3 separate regions of the Homo sapiens genome follow, and regions 2 and 3 are each linked to region 1. The links are contacts of gene promoters, found by promoter capture Hi-C in human tissues and cell types (Jung and others, 2019). All regions are on one chromosome and are shown on one strand. Each heading gives the region's core, a stretch centred on a gene start or on the middle of the fragment in contact. The rest is flanking DNA. Distances are from core to core; before and after follow the strand shown.

Region 1 (2,555 bases), core at 42-2,541:
CTGCAACTTTCACTTCCCGGGTTCAAGTTATTCTCATGCCTACAAGTGGCTGGGATTACAGGCGCCCACCACCACGCCTGGCTAATTTTTGTATTTTTAGTAGAGACAGGGTTTCACCATGTTGGCCAGGCTGGTCTCGAACTCCTGACCTCAAGTGATCCGCCGGTCTTGGCCTCCCAAAGTGCTGGGATTACAGGTGCGAGCCACTGTGCCCGGCCTCGTGTATCCTTTTAATGAGGCCGAGCGGTGACAAGACTGTGGATGGCATTGGGGCCAGGGACCAGAACAGGGAGAGCCTGGGAGGAACCCCTCCAGCCCCCCGCAAAGCTCAAGCACCGGATACTAAAGAAGAATGGTAGATGGGGCCTCACGATGTGCAGGGGGAAGGGAACTGGCTTAACTGGATGGTCCCCTGTCCGAGCACTGGGCTAGGCCTTTTGTGTGCATAGTATCGTCTGCTGTTACCAAGAAATTAGTTATGCTTATCATCTGCATTTTACAGAAGAGGAGAACAAGGCTCAGAGAGGTTGATGACACCTGCCCAAGTTACCCAGATGGTAGGTGGCAGAGCTGGGATTTGAGATTCAGATAAGGCCTGGGACGCTCCCTGGCTGCCCACCGAGAGCAGGAATTTCTGTAGCATCTAGAAAGGCAGGAAGGTGAAAGAGGGGACAAGAGCTGGAGGGGGAGCAAATGGGTCCTACCTGAGACTTACCATCATCAGGTGCTGCCAGACCTGGCTTCTCTTCTATTCTGAGAACTGATATCCTGTGGCTGACTTACCAGGGTCGTCCTAGTCCCCCCGCACGGTATTGGGAGTGGAGGCAGCCCCACACGGAGGCGCTGGGAGACTTTCCTCCCAGCAGTGTCCTGTCACTGCATTCCGGCCCCTGCGTTTGTAGGCAGTGATGTCACAGAGTGCCTTCATGCTCCTCGGGTCTCCGGTTCTCCCCGGACCTCTGTAGTCCTCATTGCCAAAGTTGTACCCCCTGGGGAGTGCACCCTGCCTGCATTTCTGGAGGTTCGGGCGGTTCCGGGGCTCTGCAGGAGCCTCCAGGCGTGATAAAGAGCGCTGCCGGCACTCCCGGGGTCTCGGCCTCTTTGGGGCCCATTGCCAAGCCCCTTCCCTCCTCGTGCTCCCGCTCCGCGTTGCAGCGTCCCCTTCGCCGCCAGGGGCCGCCCGGAAGCGGGGCTCCCCCAGGGCGGGGCGGGGCAAGGGGCGGGGCGCGGCGGTACCTGGGCCGCCAGGGAGCCGGGGGTGGGCTCTCCGGGGACAGCCGGCAGCGCCCCCAGATCTGCACCGCCAGCCGCCGGGAGCTCCGGGCTCCGGGCGTAGAGGCTGCGCTGTCACATGGGCGGCGGCGACGGGGCCGCATTTAAGCGGCCGGGGGACGGCGCCCGCCTCCAGCGCGTCCTCGGGCTTGGCTCCCGCCGGGAGCCCCGTTCTCTGCCCGCCGGGGGCCCCGCGCCGCGCCGCACCGCGCCGCCCCCGCCGGGCCATGCGAGCGCGGGCCCCGCCGCGATGAGCTCGCACATCGCCAAAAGCGAGTCCAAGACGTCGCTGCTGAAGGCGGCGGCGGCGGCGGCGAGCGGGGGCAGCCGGGCTCCCCGCCACGGCCCTGCCCGGGACCCGGGGCTGCCTAGCCGCCGGCTACCCGGCTCCTGCCCGGCGACGCCGCAGTCGTCCGGGGACCCCAGTTCGCGGAGGCCCCTGTGCCGGCCGGCGCCGCGAGAGGAGGGCGCGCGGGGGAGCCAGCGTGTGCTCCCCCAGGCGCACTGCAGGCCCCGGGAGGCGCTGCCGGCCGCGGCGTCCCGACCTTCGCCGTCGTCGCCGCTGCCGCCGGCCCGCGGGCGGGATGGGGAGGAACGGGGACTGTCCCCGGCGCTCGGCCTCCGGGGCTCTCTGCGAGCCCGGGGCCGCGGGGACTCCGTTCCAGCCGCCGCGTCCGAGGCGGACCCGTTCCTCCACCGGCTGCGCCCCATGCTCAGCTCCGCCTTTGGCCAGGTAAGGGCCGCGCCTCCCGTCAGCGCTCCCGGGAAAGGCGCTCGGGACCCTGCCGGCCGCGGTTGCGCGTCCACAGCCTCCTCCCGCGGCCCGTGGTCCCCCACGGATCACGCCTCGGCTCACCTCGTCCTCCCCGGGCCGGCGCCCTTGCCGGCACTCCTCCTCCCCGTGCCTGATTCAGCACCCCGTGCGCTGTCCACGCTCCGGGCCTCTTGGGGCAAGGCCCTCCCCGCTAGCCTCCCTCATACCCGCCAGAACCCGCCAGTCCTGGAAGAGAGCGACCTCTACGACCGTCCTGGAGATTTGCGGGGGTCAAGGAGGGGCGCTCCGAGCAGGTGGCGCCAAACCCACTCCTCTGGCCTCTGGCCAGTACCGCCAGGGAGGGACTCAGGAGAGCAAGCGGTTTGGAGTCTGGGGGTCAAGAGAGGGGACCTCAGAGAACACAGAATTACTTGAGGGCGAGGGACACTGGCCACTGCCTATCATGTCCCTGAAGGCCTGAGAAAAGTTAGGAGATCCAAAAATATGAGGAAAGAGAAGAGGTGTCTGG
Region 2 (2,555 bases), core at 21-2,520, 61 kb after region 1:
TGCAAAGAAGCCTTAATGTTCAAGCTTTAGAAAGATCAGAGCAATTTTTCTCTTTCAGTCCAAACTAAGACTCTCTGTATTTAAATCTCTCTGGGGCAAGAGGGCTAGATTTCCTCATTTTGTTATGAGACTAGATTGGTACCAGTAGATCAGCTGCCTAGCGAGGGCAGGTTTCTTCTTTGCATCTGTGTGGCTTGCTTCCAGTCTGGCCTGTCCTTTCCAGCTGCCTTTTGTCTAGCCTGCTATGGGGGGCCAGATTATCTTGATAAGAGCAGGTGATTTGGGGACTAGCTGGGTTGGCAGGAAAAGAGCAGGATGGATCTCTTGGGACAGGTTCCCCCAGGAGTATAAACACAAGGAGCCAGGATTGTGCTGGCAGCCAAGGAAACAGTAGTGCCTGTTTGAGTTGGCAGAGAGGGCCTTGGCACCTCTTGCATCCAGGCAGTCTTGTGAGATGGGGGCACATAGCACTGGGGAAAGCAGAACTCCATTCTCACCTCTATTTTGAGCTTCAGTGCTTTATTTCAGTATGAGGAAAAACAACAACAAACTGAAGTGCGCTTTCCGTCCTTTCAAAGGACAACTGTCGGGAAGGGAGAGCCGAGTTGCGAGGTAGGAGGGGAGCACTGGCAGGGAGAGACATTCTTGACTCCTCTCTTCCCTGGTGTGTTGTGATCCAGGGAATGAAAAGAAATTTGACCCTGGATTGGTTCTCTCCTTGGACTTAAGGAATCTTACCTTTTCCTTCCACAAAGTTCTCCCAGGCAAGGACCAGCTGCCCATTCTGAGCCCAGGGCAGCCTCTTCAACCATTATTGGTCTAACCTGGCTTGTCAGGAAACCAAGCCCACCCTTCCACATTGGGCCTGGCTGCTCTATTCTGTACCAAGTACTGGAGAAAAAGCATCAAGTTCTTAGCCCTTGTAGCTTCTACCCTAGTTTCCCATCCTCTCTCTGTGGAGGCCAAACCAACTCTTTGCCAGCAGCCACAACATGCATTGACAGCGGCACAGTGAGATATAACTGATGGGCTTTGAACCTGGTTGGCCGGGGAAGCTGTAGGGGTGGATAGAGCTGGCTTTCCTTCTGGGCTGTCTCCATCTGACCCTACCCCTTCCATGTCCCACCCCACTCCCACCAAAAAGTACAAAATCAGGATGTTTTTCACTGTCCATTGCTTTGTGTTTTAATAAACAATTTGCAGTGACACTCTGTGTTGGGACTGAGTTCGAACTTGATCTCAAAGCGCTGAAGTGATGGGGTGGGAAAAAGGAGACCCAGGGGTTCACTTGGCTCCAAAGAGTTCTCCTGTGACGAGGCTGGGAACTGTTGTCCATTTAGCTGTGTGTCTTTTGCTTTTCTTCTCTCTGGGATGTTTGCTTAGGGGAATCATTCTGTAAAACCCTTCCTGGTCATTTCAACTAGCAGCGCATTTAAGGACAAAAAATTTGTTTTCACTTTCACTGGAACAACTAGGCACAGACTGTCCCACTCTTAAGGCACACTGGGCCTATTGCTGCCTCTCCTCACCATTCCCTTAGCCTCTGTGATAGCCCACGGACAAGCTAAGCTAACCTAAGCCATAGGAGATTTTTCTCTGCTTGCTCCTTTTCTGGTGTTTTGTCATTGTTGATTACACATTAGGAAGAGCAGAATGCAGGAGGGATTTTTTTTCCTATAATTTATAAGCCACGTTTTACAGGTGAGGATCGTTGAGCCAGGCATGGTGGCTTAACGCCTGTTATCCTAGCACTTTGGGAGGCTGAGGCCAGCAGATTGCTTGAGCCCAGGAGTTCAAGACCAGCCTGGGCAACATGGCGAAACCCTGTCTCTACTAAAAATACAAAAATTAGCCAGGCATGGTGGTGCATGCCTGTAGTCGCAGCTACTTAGGAGGCTGAGGTGGGAGGATTACTTGAGCCCAGGAGGTCAGTGCTGCAGTGAGCTGAGATTTCGCCATTGCACTCCAGCCTGGGTGACCCAGACACAGACACACACACACAGACACACACATACACACACACACACAAACACTGAAGCTCAAAAAAGTTCAGTAACATACCCCAGACTAATGTAGTAAATGGTCTGGTCAAGCCAGGGTTCAAATTCAGTCTGTTTGCCATCAAAGCCCCAAGCTCTTTAAAGCTGTAAAGATAATTACAGCTGTCCATTACTGAGTCCTTGAAATGGGCTGGGCACAATGCCCAGCATTTTCCACATGTTATCTCTCTTTTATCTTCAACAAACCAGTTGCTATTCCCCTTTAAGAGATGAAGTGACTTGCACAAGGTAGCACAACCAACAAAAGGCGGAGCTGGGGTTTTAAACCAGGACTCCTGCTCTCCATCATTACCCTCTGCTGCCATCCATTTCTTCATGGTGCTGGGTGGCATGGCTCCAGAGCCTACCTGCGGGATTTCTCCGAGTGGGAATGGAGACTGCTGGCTTGCAGGGGTAGGGAGGGGTGGAGGTGGAGGAACAGGAGTTTGGCCTACCTCCCTCAGTTATCCCTTGAAGGGCAGAATTCAGTGTGCAGCCCCAAGAGTGAGGCCATTG
Region 3 (2,555 bases), core at 19-2,518, 54 kb before region 1:
GAGATGGGGTTTTGCCATGTTGGCCGGGCTGGTCTCGAACTCCTGGCCTCATGTGATCTGCCTGTCTGGGCCTCCCAAAGTGCTGGGATTACAGGTGTGAGCCACCGTGTCCAGCCGGGATCACTGTCTTTATTCTTCATCCGTGTCTCCTGGGTGATCATTAATTGGGCTCTCCCAGTGTGCTGGCCACTGTCTTTTCTGGGTTTGATTGATTGAGTCCTCACATCAGCCTCATGAAGTTAGGACCCATTATCCTCTGAGACACAGGGAGGAAAATGGCTTGCCCAAGTTGACACAGTAAATTTGGGTGGACATCTGTCTTACCCTAAAACCTGTGCTCTTAACCCCTTGCTCTCTACTCTGTATTCGGGGACCTAGAAAGATGCTGAGGAAGGAGAGCGCAACTGGGGTACCATTCTGAGGTGACTTTGGCATCCGAGGGGTTTCTGTCAGAGCCCAGATGCTGCTGTTGTGGATGGTGGCAAAGGGAAACTGTATCTGCTCCAGCATTTTATTAAGCAGCCACTGCTCGTAAGAGGCTCCTACTCCTCGAATCTTAACCAATTTTCTGTAAAACCCTTATGGGGACAATCTAGATGAAATTAAACCCTCCATCTGCTTAGCCAGGGGCTTGGGGAGCCGCCACATCCTCCAGGTTGCTGGGACAGATGCAGCCCTCCCTGGACTTCAGTCAAAACATTGCATCTTGCTCCTCCTTTGTCCTCGCTGCCCTGTGAACCTCTTTCCCTGTCCCCGCCTGCTGTGAGAATTCGCTCATCCAAAAATTAATTGAAATTACAAGGGCTCTACTGTTTGACCCAGCAATTTCTCCACCAGCAATTTCTCCCACAGAGATTGTCGCATTTGTGCCAAATGACAGGTGAATGAGGATGTGTCTTGCTTGCAGCATCGTTGGTTATAGCAAAAGGCCACCTCAGTGTTTACCAGAAGGGGTCCACTGTATGTGTGTATTTATCGGACAACTATGGGCCAGGGAATGTTCATTCTAAACACTGCCTAGGCTGGGCGCGGTGGCTCACGTCTGCAATCCCAGCACTTTGGGAGGCCGAGGTGGGCGGATCACTTGAGGTCAGGAGTTCGAGACCAGCCTGGCCAATATGGTGAAACCCCATCTCTACTAAAAATACAAAAAACTAGCTGGGCATGGTGGTAGTTGCCTGTAAATCCCAGCTACTCGGGAGGCTGAGGCAGGAGGATCGCTTGAACCCAGGAGGCAGAGGTTGCAGTGAGCTGAGACTGTGCCACTGCACTCCAGCCTGGGCAACAGAGCAAAACTCTGTCTCAAAAAATAAATAAATAAATAAACAAATAAACACTGCCTAGACTGACTCATTTAATCCTGACAACTACCCTATAAAGTAGGTACTTGGTTTTATTAACCCCATTTTACAGATGAGGAAACTGAGGCTCAGGGAGAACAAACTGTTGGCCTAAGCTTCACGTAGCTTGTCCACAGCAGGGCCAGAATTTGGATCAGGCAGTCCATGTTCTTAACCACTGTTCTATATGGCTTCTCTGCCTTTATTTGCATCGAAAATTTCCAAAGGGTGACCCAAGAAGCTGTTGATGGTGGTTACCTCTGGGGAGAGGAATTCAGGTGTGAAGTAGGAAGGCCTTAGTTTCTACCATGTCCTCTGTTTTTCCATTTTATTTTGCCATATGTTTGTGTGCTGAATGTTTATGTTCCCTCAAATTAATATACGGAAATCCTAACCTTTAAGATGATGGTATTAGGAGGTGGGGCCTTTGGGAGGTGATTAGGTCATAAGAGTTGAACCCTCATGAATAGTATTAGTGCCCTTATAAAAGGGACCCCAGGCTGGGGACTGTGGCCCATGCCTGTAATCCCAGTACTTCAGGAGGCTGAGGTGGGTGGATCACTTGATTCTAGGAGTTTAAGACCAGCCTGGGCAACATGGTGAAACCCCGCCTCTCCTAAAAATACAAAAATTAGCTGGGTATGGTGGTGCATGCCTGTAATCCCAGCTACTCAGGAGGCTGAGGCAGGAGAATCACTTGAGCTTGAGCCTGGGAGGCAGAGGTTGCAGTGAGCTGAGATCACACCGCTGCACTCCAGCCTGGGTGACAGAACAAGGTCCTGTCTCCAAAAAAAAAAAAAAAGAGGGACCCCAGAGAGTGCTCTCTCCCTCTCCTACCACATGAGGACACAGAATCTCCTGGCACCTTAATCTTGGACTTCCCAGCCTCCAGAACTGTGAGCAATAAAAGCAATAAATATTTGTTGTTTAAGCCAACCAGTCTGTGGTATTTTTACTGTAGCATCCTGAAAAGACAAATGGAGATGTGCATATGTTAGTTTCATAATTTAAAGAAGTTACTGGCCACGCATGGTGGCTCATGCCTATAATCCCAGCACTTTGAGAGGCTGAGGCAGGAGGATTGCTTGAGCCCAGGAGTTCAAGACCAGCCTGGGCAACAAAGTGAGACCCCGTCTCTACAAAAAAGTACAAATTAGCCAGGCATGGTGGCACTTGGCTGTAGTCCCAGCTACTTGGGAGTGTGAGGTGGGAGGA

The links. The method cuts DNA at HindIII sites, captures the fragments that hold promoters and counts their contacts. A contact is called where the count stands out against the background at its distance.
Region 2: a fragment that was not itself captured here is called in contact with the fragment with the promoter of CABP1 in region 1 in 3 of the 25 tissues and cell types used here (adrenal gland, neural progenitor cells and small bowel).
Region 3: a contact is called between a fragment that was not itself captured here and the fragment with the promoter of CABP1 in region 1, in 2 of the 25 tissues and cell types used here (dorsolateral prefrontal cortex and liver).

Annotation. Positions count from the first base shown.
Region 1 is chr12:120,639,335-120,641,889 of GRCh38, forward strand. CABP1 (calcium binding protein 1) reads left to right here and starts at 1,292. Exons shown (of 6, transcript NM_001033677.2): 1 at 1,292-2,005. The coding sequence starts at 1,352. It overlaps CABP1-DT (CABP1 divergent transcript), which reads right to left and starts at 1,188. Exons shown (of 2, transcript NR_183426.1): 1 at 716-1,188. RefSeq lists silencers at 1,152-1,451, 1,672-1,771, 1,782-1,951, 2,172-2,271. The HindIII fragment of the contact is 37,846 bases long and covers 1-2,555 here.
Region 2 is chr12:120,700,652-120,703,206 of GRCh38, forward strand. It overlaps MLEC (malectin), which reads left to right. Exons shown (of 5, transcript NM_014730.4): 5 at 1-1,208. LOC124903035 (a long non-coding RNA gene) reads right to left here. Exons shown (of 2, transcript XR_007063489.1): 1 at 2,062-2,555; 2 at 1,160-1,393. Among named protein-coding and RNA genes, the nearest start is that of UNC119B, 8.5 kb to the right of the region's middle. The HindIII fragment of the contact is 5,890 bases long and covers 1-2,555 here.
Region 3 is chr12:120,585,619-120,588,173 of GRCh38, forward strand. No RefSeq gene overlaps it. Among named protein-coding and RNA genes, the nearest start is that of POP5, 5.5 kb to the left of the region's middle. The HindIII fragment of the contact is 5,268 bases long and covers 1-2,555 here.